2 separate regions of the Homo sapiens genome follow, and region 2 is linked to region 1. Evidence: promoter capture Hi-C in human tissues and cell types (Jung and others, 2019). All regions are on one chromosome and are shown on one strand. Each heading gives the region's core, a stretch centred on a gene start or on the middle of the fragment in contact. The rest is flanking DNA. Distances are from core to core; before and after follow the strand shown. Region 1 holds the start of FOXL2 (forkhead box L2). Region 2 overlaps PIK3CB (phosphatidylinositol-4,5-bisphosphate 3-kinase catalytic subunit beta).

Region 1 (5,097 bases), core at 1,658-4,157:
CAAAGAGGCAGTGAGTTCTGCCCAGCCCACCACCCTGGCCTTTGGAGGTGAGCGCCGCCCCAAGGTCACTAAGCCGGGGGCCCTGCGTCGCCCCAATGCCGCGGGGAGAAAAGGAACCGGCCCTGGCGTCCACAAAACCTAGGCACAGTATGCCCTGTTCAGAGAGGATCCCGACCTCGCCAGCAACCAGCCTACCTCCGAAGGTTGAGAAGTAAATCAGGGCGCCCCGCACCGTTTCCTGGAGCGCCCGGTTCACCCACCTCTGGCTGGGCCGGCAAGGAGAGGATTCTGTTCTCTCCCTAGATTCCTCTATCTCCAGCCCGAAGCCCCTGGCTTTTCCGCAGAAGCCTGGAGGGGACCTGAAAGTAATCATTCTGCCAGCTTTCCCGCCCGCATTTTCTTGCCTGTTTTCTGAGCCTTCGAATGCCGGACAGCCATGTGAAGGCACATCTTGGGGAGACCGATTCCAGCCCTTCCCAGGGTGCACGCATCAGGCATCCTCTTCTTCACCAGGGCTGGGGATTCTGTTCCTCTACGGGACAGTCAGAAATCAGTATTTTCAGAGCAGAACTCCTTTCTATTCTGAAAATCCTTCAGAGGAACTCCTTCATTTGCCCCCAACCCCTACACACACACACACACACACACACACGCACATGCATACACACACAGGCTCTTTAAAGGCTGAAAAGGGAGCCGAGTGTGGAATTCAGGGAAGTGATGACACACACAACAATGCTGTTACACCTGGCTGCTGCAGGGCTGAGCAGCGGAAATGCCTGTGAGAAGAAGAAAGAAAGACAGAGAGACGCAGAGAGCCAGCCTGGGTGGTCAAGAAAAAAAAAAAGGAGAGAAAAGGAGAGAGGAGCCCCCACCAGGATGGGGCCAGACCCAGCTGTTTTTCCCCCTGCCCAGGCCCTGGCTGGGGGAGGATAGGCACTGAGGCCAATCTGCAGCAGCCCCAAACCGGACTCACCACTCCCACCCAAAGCTTGGGCAAGGATGGGGGTAAGGAAGAAGAAAAACATCTGCACTCCTGCTCAGAAAGCAGCAGCAGGGATTCTGCGGAAGTGCTGCTTCCCCCATGTCTGTTGGGTGCAGTGGGAGACCGCCCATAAAAAAAACCAAGCTACTTTGGGGATAGCCTTGCTCCCTCTCATCCTTGTGACCAGGCAAGGGCTGCCCTGCTGACCTCTCTGGTGTCATCTTCAAGATGCTGAATTCCAAAGAGCCCTACCACCCTTGTCCTCCCTCCCTTTCATCTCAGAATGCAGATCAGAGGCCTGAGTGAGCAGCAGACAACACTTGTAGATGGCCTGTGGATGCTGGAACCACAGGCCGCTGAAGGCTCCTTGGGCTTCAGGAGAACCCTCAGAGTCTAAACAGCCTGGGAGGAAGAGGCAGTGACAGGCATTGAGTCAGCCACTCCAGACATGCCAATCACTAATGCACAGCTATATGACATCCATTCAGTCCACCTTCCTCCATAAGGTGGCCTTGCCCCCCTCCTCAGCACCAAGGAGTTTGGGGCTTGAGGATTCAAAACACTGGCCATCTCTCTCATACTTTATGACTGCAGACTTTTTGTTTAGGCCAAGTTAAAAGGCACTGTTAAGGAGCACACTGTTAAAAGGCACACCTGATTTTCCCTGAAACAATCTCTGTACATGCTGAAATAATTGGATTCCCATCAGAATTCTGCTTAAGGTAGGTGACAACTAACTCCTGATTCTTTGGAGAAAGATCAGAACAAATGTCTCATCAGGAGAGAGATTTGAACAAGTCCCTCCCTCAGCCTGATGTTTGTCTTCCCAGTCTGTGGCAAAATACATACACTGGGAGGGAAAGAGGCATCGAAGAATTGTGAAAGAAAGGAAGAAAGGGGGGAAGGAAAGAAGTAAGAAAGGAGAAAAAGAGAAGATGCTATATCCACCAGCTACATTTACTCTAATACTTGATGAACATATTACATAACTATCAGTATAAGTGTGTTTTACCTCGTAAATACAAATCTCACACCTTGTACATGTGCATACCTGTGTTTCTGAGCAGCACACATGCACCTGGTATCTCACCCATCTCAAGGACAGCTCCTCTCCATGACTTCCATATGTGACCCCTGTGCACACACATACACAGTCCCGCAAAGTCCCGGGCAACAGCCCCGCCTGTGTTAGTGCAATAGCTGAGGGGCATCTACTTGGTGCTGTTAAAGCACACATCCAACCTTCACTCCAACCCCGTAGGATTAGTACACGGATTCCTGGTTCCTAGATCCACTGGTAACGCAGGGAGAGGCAGAGGTGATTCAGGCGGCGCCCCTGACGACTATTTCCAGAGATCCTCTCCCCTGCCCCATTCCAGCCCAGTCACTCTGAGAGCGCGAGGGACAGGCCAGGCCGAGGCTTCTTCGTACAGTCACACCCGTTTCTGGGCTGACTTTCCCAAAGCCTCAGAGCAGCTCTCCCCACCCTACCCCGTCCAGCCCCCTCGCCGTCTCGCCCCTCCCCAGCCCCGAGCTAGAAGTTCAGCCTCAAGACGGCAGCAAACGGCAGAGCAAAGGAGTCGTTTTCTTTCACCTGAAAGCCGCGAGGAGGCTTGGAGCGCCTTTCCTCGCTGGGGCCCGAGCTTCCTGGGCTTTGGCCGGGTGCGGGCAGACCCCACCGGGGTCCTCGTCATCTCCCAGCCCAGCCCGCAGAGCGAGTACCGGCAGATTTCAAGGGCGCGTGAGCCTGGCTGTCGGCTGGGCCCCTGAGGCTCGCTGGGCGGGGGCAGGCCGGTCCAGGCTGTGCGGGGCGTTTACAAAAAGTGACTTGGAGATGAACTCGCCCGTGCGCGGCTGGCCGCCCCGCTATAGGGGCGAAGGCGCCTGACGCAAGCGGAACTCGGTGGAGCCCATACGAATCAGAACAGAGCGAGGCTCCTGGCGCACTAGGGACTCCAGGAGGCAGCTCCGCCAGAGACGCGGGTCGTGCTTCGGGAAACCGGGGGGCGGGGGGAGGGGAAGAGCGCAGAAAAGAAAACCCACCAAGGCGGGGACTGGCCTGAGCGGGGAGGGGCGGCGAGGCCGGAGCCCCTCTCTGTTGGGCGGACTCCCCATGGCCAGAGGCTGAGCTCCACTCCCGCCGGCCGCTCCCTAGGGGAAGGGGAAGGAGAGGGGAGAGCAGCGACAGGCCTCCAGCAAGCAAGCGCGGGCGGCATCCGCAGTCTCCAGAAGTTTGAGACTTGGCCGTAAGCGGACTCGTGCGCCCCAACTCTTTGCCGCGCCAGCGCCTGGAGCGGAGAGCAGAGGCGGCCCGGCCGCGGCGCGCCGGCTTTGTCATGATGGCCAGCTACCCCGAGCCCGAGGACGCGGCGGGGGCCCTGCTGGCCCCAGAGACCGGTCGCACAGTCAAGGAGCCAGAAGGGCCGCCGCCGAGCCCAGGCAAGGGCGGTGGGGGTGGCGGCGGGACAGCCCCGGAGAAGCCGGACCCGGCGCAGAAGCCCCCGTACTCGTACGTGGCGCTCATCGCCATGGCGATCCGCGAGAGCGCGGAGAAGAGGCTCACGCTGTCCGGCATCTACCAGTACATCATCGCGAAGTTCCCGTTCTACGAGAAGAATAAGAAGGGCTGGCAAAATAGCATCCGCCACAACCTCAGCCTCAACGAGTGCTTCATCAAGGTGCCGCGCGAGGGCGGCGGCGAGCGCAAGGGCAACTACTGGACGCTGGACCCGGCCTGCGAAGACATGTTCGAGAAGGGCAACTACCGGCGCCGCCGCCGCATGAAGAGGCCCTTCCGGCCGCCGCCCGCGCACTTCCAGCCCGGCAAGGGGCTCTTCGGGGCCGGAGGCGCCGCAGGCGGGTGCGGCGTGGCGGGCGCCGGGGCCGACGGCTACGGCTACCTGGCGCCCCCCAAGTACCTGCAGTCTGGCTTCCTCAACAACTCGTGGCCGCTACCGCAGCCTCCCTCACCCATGCCCTATGCCTCCTGCCAGATGGCGGCAGCCGCAGCGGCTGCAGCAGCTGCGGCTGCAGCCGCGGGCCCCGGTAGCCCTGGCGCGGCCGCTGTGGTCAAGGGGCTGGCGGGCCCGGCCGCCTCGTACGGGCCGTACACACGCGTGCAGAGCATGGCGCTGCCCCCCGGCGTAGTGAACTCGTACAATGGCCTGGGAGGCCCGCCGGCCGCACCCCCGCCTCCGCCGCACCCCCACCCGCATCCGCACGCACACCATCTGCACGCGGCCGCCGCACCGCCGCCTGCCCCACCGCACCACGGGGCCGCCGCGCCGCCGCCGGGCCAGCTCAGCCCTGCCAGCCCAGCCACCGCCGCGCCCCCGGCGCCCGCGCCCACCAGTGCGCCGGGCCTGCAGTTCGCTTGTGCCCGGCAGCCCGAGCTCGCCATGATGCATTGCTCTTACTGGGACCACGACAGCAAGACCGGCGCGCTGCATTCGCGCCTCGATCTCTGAGAGCCCACCGCATGCCGGTGCAGACGGATGCGAGGATGCAGGGACGCGCGACGCCGGCCCCGGTCGCAGCCGACGACGCCGCCGCCAGCCTGACCTCACACCCTCTGGGCCCGCCTCTGGAGCCAGCGCCCAGGGTCCCTCTGTGCTTTTTCGCTTTCCTAAGCTCCTGTCGCTCCTCTTTGTCCCCTCAGTTTATGTCCTCCTGTGCTCACCTCCCTGACCTCTGTGACCTTGCACTCCCCTGGCCTGAAGCTGCCTCTCTGCGCGCTTTCTACTGGGCTCGTCTCTTTCCGGAGCCCCAGCGTCTCCTGCCCAAATTCACCGCGGAAAGGGCCCGGGGCGGAGGTGCGACCGGGCGTCGGCAGCGCAGACCTCTTGGCCTTCTCTCACAGGTCGGTGCGCTCGCTCTCCGCGTTCCCCGCCCGACTGCCGTGCAGTCCATGGCTAGACGCGCCGGACAGGACTGATGGCGGGACCGCGCTGCCCGAGAAAGGGACGGACCAATACGTGTGTTTGCTCCGCGAACCCTCTTGAAGCTGTTCAGAAGCCGCTTGCCGCGGGGCCCACTAGGCGGGGCGGGGGTTGGGACCCAGCGGGAGCCGGGGCAGCCTGGCTCCACGGCCTGTACTCGGTTTACACCGCGGG
Region 2 (6,647 bases), core at 3,037-5,536, 240 kb after region 1:
AGTTCTGTGAATTGACCATATTTAGCGTGGTGGAAAAGGAAAAGGAAGGAGTACCTTGAAGAAAGAAGCAGTTGGTGAGGTAAAAGGAGCGCCACTTAATGGAGTATTCCAGAGGCTACCAGAGAAGGTATTTTCTGTCAGCAGTTGCAGGATAATAAAGAGCATTATCGTTAGATTTGATAAGAAGAATGTCATTGATGACTTAAAATACCAATTTGGTTATTGTGACAACCATGAAAACCAGATTACATGTGATTAAGAAGTCCATATGTAGTGATGAGATTATAGTTTCTATGGGCCACCTAATTTTGATGGAGAGAGAGCAGTTCCAATTAAAGTCTTTTCAAGATTGAGAACTAAATTTGAATTAAGAGGTAAAGTAGTCATTCAGTTTTGTTAACTTTCTCATTTTTAAAACATGTATGCAAACTCACACTGAAATTTTGTTCCAAGCATTAACAGAAAATTAGAGGATTACTGATAGAATTGTCTGTCACACTTCTGTAGTTGACATACTTCTAAGGTGATTTTCATGGGAGGAGATCCATTACAGCTTTTTTAAAGCCTAGTTTTAAAGACATTTTTTAAGAACCAAAATTATTTGCATGTTTTAGATGAACTCGAAGAAATGTTGAATCCAATGGGAACTGTTCAAACAAATCCATATACTGAAAATGCAACAGCTTTGCATGTTAAATTTCCAGAGAATAAAAAACAACCTTATTATTACCCTCCCTTCGATAAGGTAAGCTAATTATTTAAAGGACCTCTATGCATGAAATGATTGAATGATCAGTTCCTCTATGTATAGTTTAAGCTCTATCTGTCTCTTTCAAAACTTCCCATACAGTGACAGCTTTGTTGAGTGGGAAGACCATGGATCAGGGAGCCTTCTTAACTCTGTTAGTTTTGGTTTTATCACTGACTAAGTAAGAAAAGGTACCTCCAGGCCGGGCGCAGTGGTTCACGCCTGTAATCCCAGCACTTTGGGAGCCCGAGGTGGGTGGATCACCTGAGGTCGGGAGTTCGAGACCAGCCTGACAAACATGGAGAAGCCCTGTCTCTACTAAAAATACAAAATTAGCTGGACATGGTGGCACATGCCTGTAATCCCAGCTACTCGGGAGGCTGAGCAGGAGAATTGCTTGAACCCGGGAGGCGGAGGTTGCAGTGAGCCAAGATCGTGCCATTGCACTCCAGCCTGGGCAACAAAAGCAAAACTCCGTCTCAAAAAAAAGAGAGAGAGAAAAGGCATCTCTGGAGTTCACTTTTCTTATTTATAAAATGAAGAAATCATAATTGTTCTATTTTTTAATATCTCACGCCCTTAAAGGGCTATAAATATATTCATATGTAACTGAATACATAAAATGTTGTTTCAAATATTAAAGGTATAGTCACTGCTGTATTAGAATTGATACTCAAAGAACAATTGATTTTTGTTGAATATGTCTGTTAGTGGCGCTTCCTAATGTAGTTATTTTATAGAATCTATAGTAAGGACTTCATTTCTAAATATATTTCTTTAATATACACACTGCATGTCTTGGGGATAAAGAGATTATCTAATGGGGGCTAAATATAGGGCTATGGTAATTTACATGCTAAGAGAGCTGAGCTGTCATATATTTTATCTTTAGGTTTGGCATGGTGTTTTTTATTTTAAAAAATGGAGTATTTCTCTGTCATCCAGGCTGGAGTGCAGTGGCACAATTATTGAGCCTCAAATTACTTGCCTCAAGCAACTGTCCTGCCTCAGCATCCCTGGTACTGGGATTACAAGTGAGAGCCACTGCACCTGGTAGTGTTGATTTTTATAAGGAAATCTTTGAACAAATTCTCAGAATTTAGGAGCCAGGCACCATGGCTCAAGCCTGTGATCCCATCAGCTTGGGAGTCTGAACCAGGAGGATAACTTGAGGCTAGGAGTTCAAGATAGCCTGGACAACATAGAGAGACCCTTGTCTGTACAAAAATTTAAAAGTTAGCTGGGTGTGGTGGCATGTGCCTATAGTCCTAGCTACTCTGGAGACTGAGGTAGGAGGACTACTTTAGCCCAGGAATTTCAGACTGCAGTGACCTATGGTCATGCCACTGTGCTCCAGCCTGGGCAACAGAGAGAGACCCTGTCTCTGGAGAAAAAAAAATGTTCAGAAAATAAGCTGAAAGTTTATTTAATTTCCTCAATCCGCTTGAGTACAAACTACCTTTGAAGATTGATATTATACTTTATAAATACTTAAGATAATCTACCTGTACATTTAAAGTATTAGCAAATTAAATTTATGTAATTCACTCTTTCTTCATTTTCATTATAATTGGATTTTATCCATCTAAGGAGTAATTTTTTATTTCAAGTTTTTTAAACATGTTTTTCTGAACAATAATTTACAACCAAATTAAATTTTGTGCTTATAATATAAATTTCAAATATGGCAAGAATCATATACGTTAGTATACACTGAGTAGAAAAAGCTACATTTTGACTCATCCAATACGTTTATGTAGTGTCTTTAGTTATTCCTTTGATAGAAATTTATCCATAAGCCATAGCTACTCGTGATATATTTAATAGTTTTAGCTGTGACTATTATCATGTTCAGTTATGATGTGTGTTCAACAGTTATAGGCTCTTTTGGCTCAAATGAAATGCTTTTTGAAGTACTTTTACAAATATAGCCTCCTATATTTGCAAATATAAGTTTTTTTTTTTGTTTGTTTTGTTTTTTGTTTTTTTTTTTTTTTTTTGCCTTTCTAATCTCTTGGAGAGTCTTTCTTGAAGAAGATCAGTTTGGGATAGAGATTTTAGTCTTTGAATATATATAAGCCAGGGACAGCAGCCTTTAGTCCCATCTGCTTGAGGCTGAGGTGGGATAATTGCCTGAGCCCAGGAGTTCAAGGCGAGCTTGGGCAACATAGACCCCATCTCAAAAACAAACAAAAAGTATGTAAATAAGTATATGCTTATTGATCTCCTTCAATTGTACAAGTTAGATATTGTCGTTACTTCTACTTTTGGTGTCTGTTAATTGAAGAAAAAACATAATGAGAAAAGTTTATTCTACAATTTAGTAACTCTTACATGTTTTTGTGTCTTCTTAACTAGAATACATTTACTTATACTTAAAAGAAAATTTTTGACATATATATGCTAGCTGGTACTTGTTTTATCTCCAGACAATTTTAGTGCTTCCTAGGAGTCATAATCCCTTATAGCAATACCATCATTTCCCTGTTGTCAAGAGTTTAAAGCACTTGAGAAGCATCATTTTGCTTTTAAAATTCATGTTTCTGTTACAAAGCATAGCAATGCCAGATCTTATGTAGTCTAAGTACAAATGTAGTCATTTACACTTAAAATTCTACAAATATGAGAGCCAAAATTCATTTTCTTTAATTTTTTTAAACAGATTATTGAAAAGGCAGCTGAGATTGCAAGCAGTGATAGTGCTAATGTGTCAGTAAGTATCAAGAGTTTTAAATGGCCCTTTCTTATGGAGTTGTGCACATTATTAGGTATCTTTGCCTCATAGTAATGAACTCACAGAAGACCGTAACTCATATGCAAGAACAGTCTGTGAGTGTGGGTAAGTATGCACATGATAGTGTTTTGTTAAATGGCAGCCCAATTTGTGGGTGATCTGGGTTCAGTGGGCAAGCCCTTTTCTGATACAAGTACAGGTTTAGCAGGTAATCTATAAGGGATTCTGTGGCACCTCATAGATTAACAATGCTGTCATAGTGAATATTATTTAGTTTAATGAGGAGACTGTATTTCTCTCAGGTAACAAAGCAGATTTAGTAATAGGCACACACATCATCATGCAAGTGACCCAAATTTCTTCCATCTTAGTGCTCTGCCATATTTAACATGTATTTTCTATTTCATGGTTTAATATTACTGCTTCAGCTTCCTACTTTACTATATTCCAGCCAGCAGGAACAGGAAAAACAATAGTAGTGGTCACACCCCATTCTTATTCAGGATATCATTAGTATGTATCATTTCTGCTTACATGTCATTGGCCAGATCTTACTGACCATGCCTAAGTACACACGCATCTGAGAGGTGCAGTCTTTAGCCACGCCATCAGTCATGCGCTTGGCTAAGAGTAAGAGATTCTAGTACTAAAGGAAGAAGTGGAGAATGGATATTGAGGGTCAAATAGTAGTCTCTGCCACATATACTATTCCCATTTGTTTCTATGCAGATACTACAAATAGGTTACTTTGTTGACTTGGGTTGCTATATTTATATCTATATCTACATCTATATATCTATATCTATATCTACATTTATATATCTATATCTATATCTACATATCTATATCTATATCTACATATATATATATAAATATGTATACCATCTGTGCTTTTTTATTTAATTTTTTGGCTCTTTCTAGTTTGACTTTGTTGAGCTGTAATCCAGTATTCTCGTCATCAGTTTACAACTTTTAAGTCTATTTAGCAAAGTCATTCTACCTGTAGCATGGCAGTGTTATAGAGACTAGGAGGCAAACTGGAGACAATGTGTATGTTTTTCCCATTCTCACAGAATCAAAGCACTATTTAATTTTGGCCAGTTGGTGAAATGTCTGGCCTAGGCTGTCTTCTCCTTTGCCATTAGAGCTCTCAGAATCTTTCCCTAGTTTCTCAGTGTGAGTCATCTGCTACTGCTTTCTTATTAGTGTTTTTGGCTTAAATTTTGTCTTTTGAATTTGAATGCTTGACCTTAGGAAAGAGAGCAGTAGTGCCAGACTCCTAGTCTTTACAGTTTACGAAAGGCTCTGGGCCAGTTTGGGACCATAATAGCCAAATTCTTCCTCTCTCTGTCTTTTTTCCCAAAGTTTTGTGTTATTCAGGTTTCTGGAGACAGTTTCAGATAATAATTTAATTTGTAAACATTGTGCAAATTTTAATAGCTTAAATTATATATATGGCCTGAAAAAAATTTGCATGATCAATTGATGAGGCTGGTGTGATAGGATCCTTGTGTTTGACTGCTTTTTCTTGCTGAGGATGTAGACTTGAGAATGGCCTGGAATCTCTAAGAAGTAAGAGTTTATTGAAAAAGTAAAACAGTAAAATAAAAGTGGAAGCAATCTCAGAGACTAGTGTAAAAAAATGTGTGTTTGTGTATAAATTTAAAAAATAAAAGAAAAACTTTAAAAAGAGACAACTGCAAGAGCAGTTACCTTTAATGATACAAAACAAATTTCTTACAGGTGTTAATTTATCAGCTTATTAGGCAATTACTGAAACAGATAATTACAGTTTAAGCTTAGGAGATATAGTTACACAGGCAGGTCTTGGTTCAAGTGCCTGTCTCATTACCCTTTATAAGACAATATTGCTCCTTGAACCTCAGATAAATGAATTAGTTTTTACTATTTCCACCATAAACTTGTACCTGACCTAAATCAGAGAGTTTGCTACACACTGAGCATGCAGTAATCTTGCCCAGGTCTGATATACCTTTACAATTTGTTTGTTTTTTATTAGGCACAAAGTACAATTAATAAATGGTAAGGATGGGTGTGATGGCTCACCCCTATAATCGCAGCACTTTGAGAGGCCAAGGTAGGAGGATTGCTTGAACCCAGGAATTTGAGAGCAGCCTGGGCCATACAGAGAGACCCCATCTCTACAAAAAAAAAAAAAAGTATTAACTGGGCGTGGTGGCATGGACCTGTAGTCCCAGCTACTTGGGAGGCTGAGGTGGGAGGATAGCTTGAGCCTGGGAAGTTGAGGCTGTTATGACAGAGTAAGACCCTGTATCTTTAAAAAAAAAAAAAAAAATTGTAAACCAAAAATGAAAGTTTCTCTCTGTGACTCCCACCTACCTTCCTCTCCAGAGCTAATTGTAAACAGTTTAATTTGTAGCTATCAATCCTAACTTTATATGTAAATATCTCCCCCTTTAAAATAAATGAGATCTATATATACATATATAAAACTATATATATATATAGTTTCTACTTTTTTCATTTAATATACTTTGTGGATATTGTCATGTGAGTATGAATAGGTCTACTTTTTAAAAAATACCTTTCTAACATTCCATAGCATTAATTACTAGTATCTATTAGATTTTTCTTTTTCTTTTTTTTTTTTTTTTTGAGACAGAGTCTCACTCTGTTGTCAGGCTGGAGTGCAGTGGCATGATCTCAGCTCACTGCAGTCTCTGCCACCCCGGGTTCAAGCGATTCCCCTGCCTCAGCCTCCCAAGTAGCTGGGACTACAGGCATGCGCCACCATGCCCAGCTAATTTTTTGTATTTTAGTAGAGATGGGGTTTCACCATGTTGGCCAGGATGGTCTCGATCTCTTGACCCCGTGATCTGCCCGTCTCGGCCTCCCAAAGTGCTGGGATTACAGGCGTCAGCCACCACGCCCGGCCACATCATGTCCTTTTACCCCTTAATTCTTCAGTATTTCCTTTAAAAAATGGCATTTTTATACATAACCTGAGTAGATTCATGAAGGTCAGGAAAATAATACTGATTCAGTTCTATATAATCTACAGATTTTATTCAAATTTAGCCAGTTTTCTCAGTCATGTGCTTTATAAGTCTTGGATCCAATCTCTGGTTACTTGCTGCATTTCATTGTCAGGTATATTTAGCTTCCTTCAGTCCGAAACAGTTC

The links. The method cuts DNA at HindIII sites, captures the fragments that hold promoters and counts their contacts. A contact is called where the count stands out against the background at its distance.
Region 2: a fragment that was not itself captured here is called in contact with the fragment with the promoter of FOXL2 in region 1 in 2 of the 25 tissues and cell types used here (lymphoblastoid cells and mesendoderm cells).

The regions. Positions count from the first base shown.
Region 1 is chr3:138,944,947-138,950,043 of GRCh38, reverse strand. FOXL2 (forkhead box L2) reads left to right here and starts at 2,907. Exons shown (of 1, transcript NM_023067.4): 1 at 2,907-5,097. The coding sequence starts at 3,322. The coding sequence ends at 4,452. FOXL2NB (FOXL2 neighbor) reads right to left here and starts at 2,827. Exons shown (of 3, transcript NM_001040061.3): 1 at 2,580-2,827; 2 at 405-524. The coding sequence starts at 2,679. RefSeq lists a silencer at 2,663-2,891 and an enhancer at 4,932-5,097. The HindIII fragment of the contact is 6,167 bases long and covers 241-5,097 here.
Region 2 is chr3:138,701,257-138,707,903 of GRCh38, reverse strand. PIK3CB (phosphatidylinositol-4,5-bisphosphate 3-kinase catalytic subunit beta) reads left to right here. Exons shown (of 24, transcript NM_006219.3): 11 at 615-745; 12 at 3,411-3,461. Among named protein-coding and RNA genes, the nearest start is that of FAIM, 96 kb to the right of the region's middle. The HindIII fragment of the contact is 9,160 bases long and covers 1-6,647 here.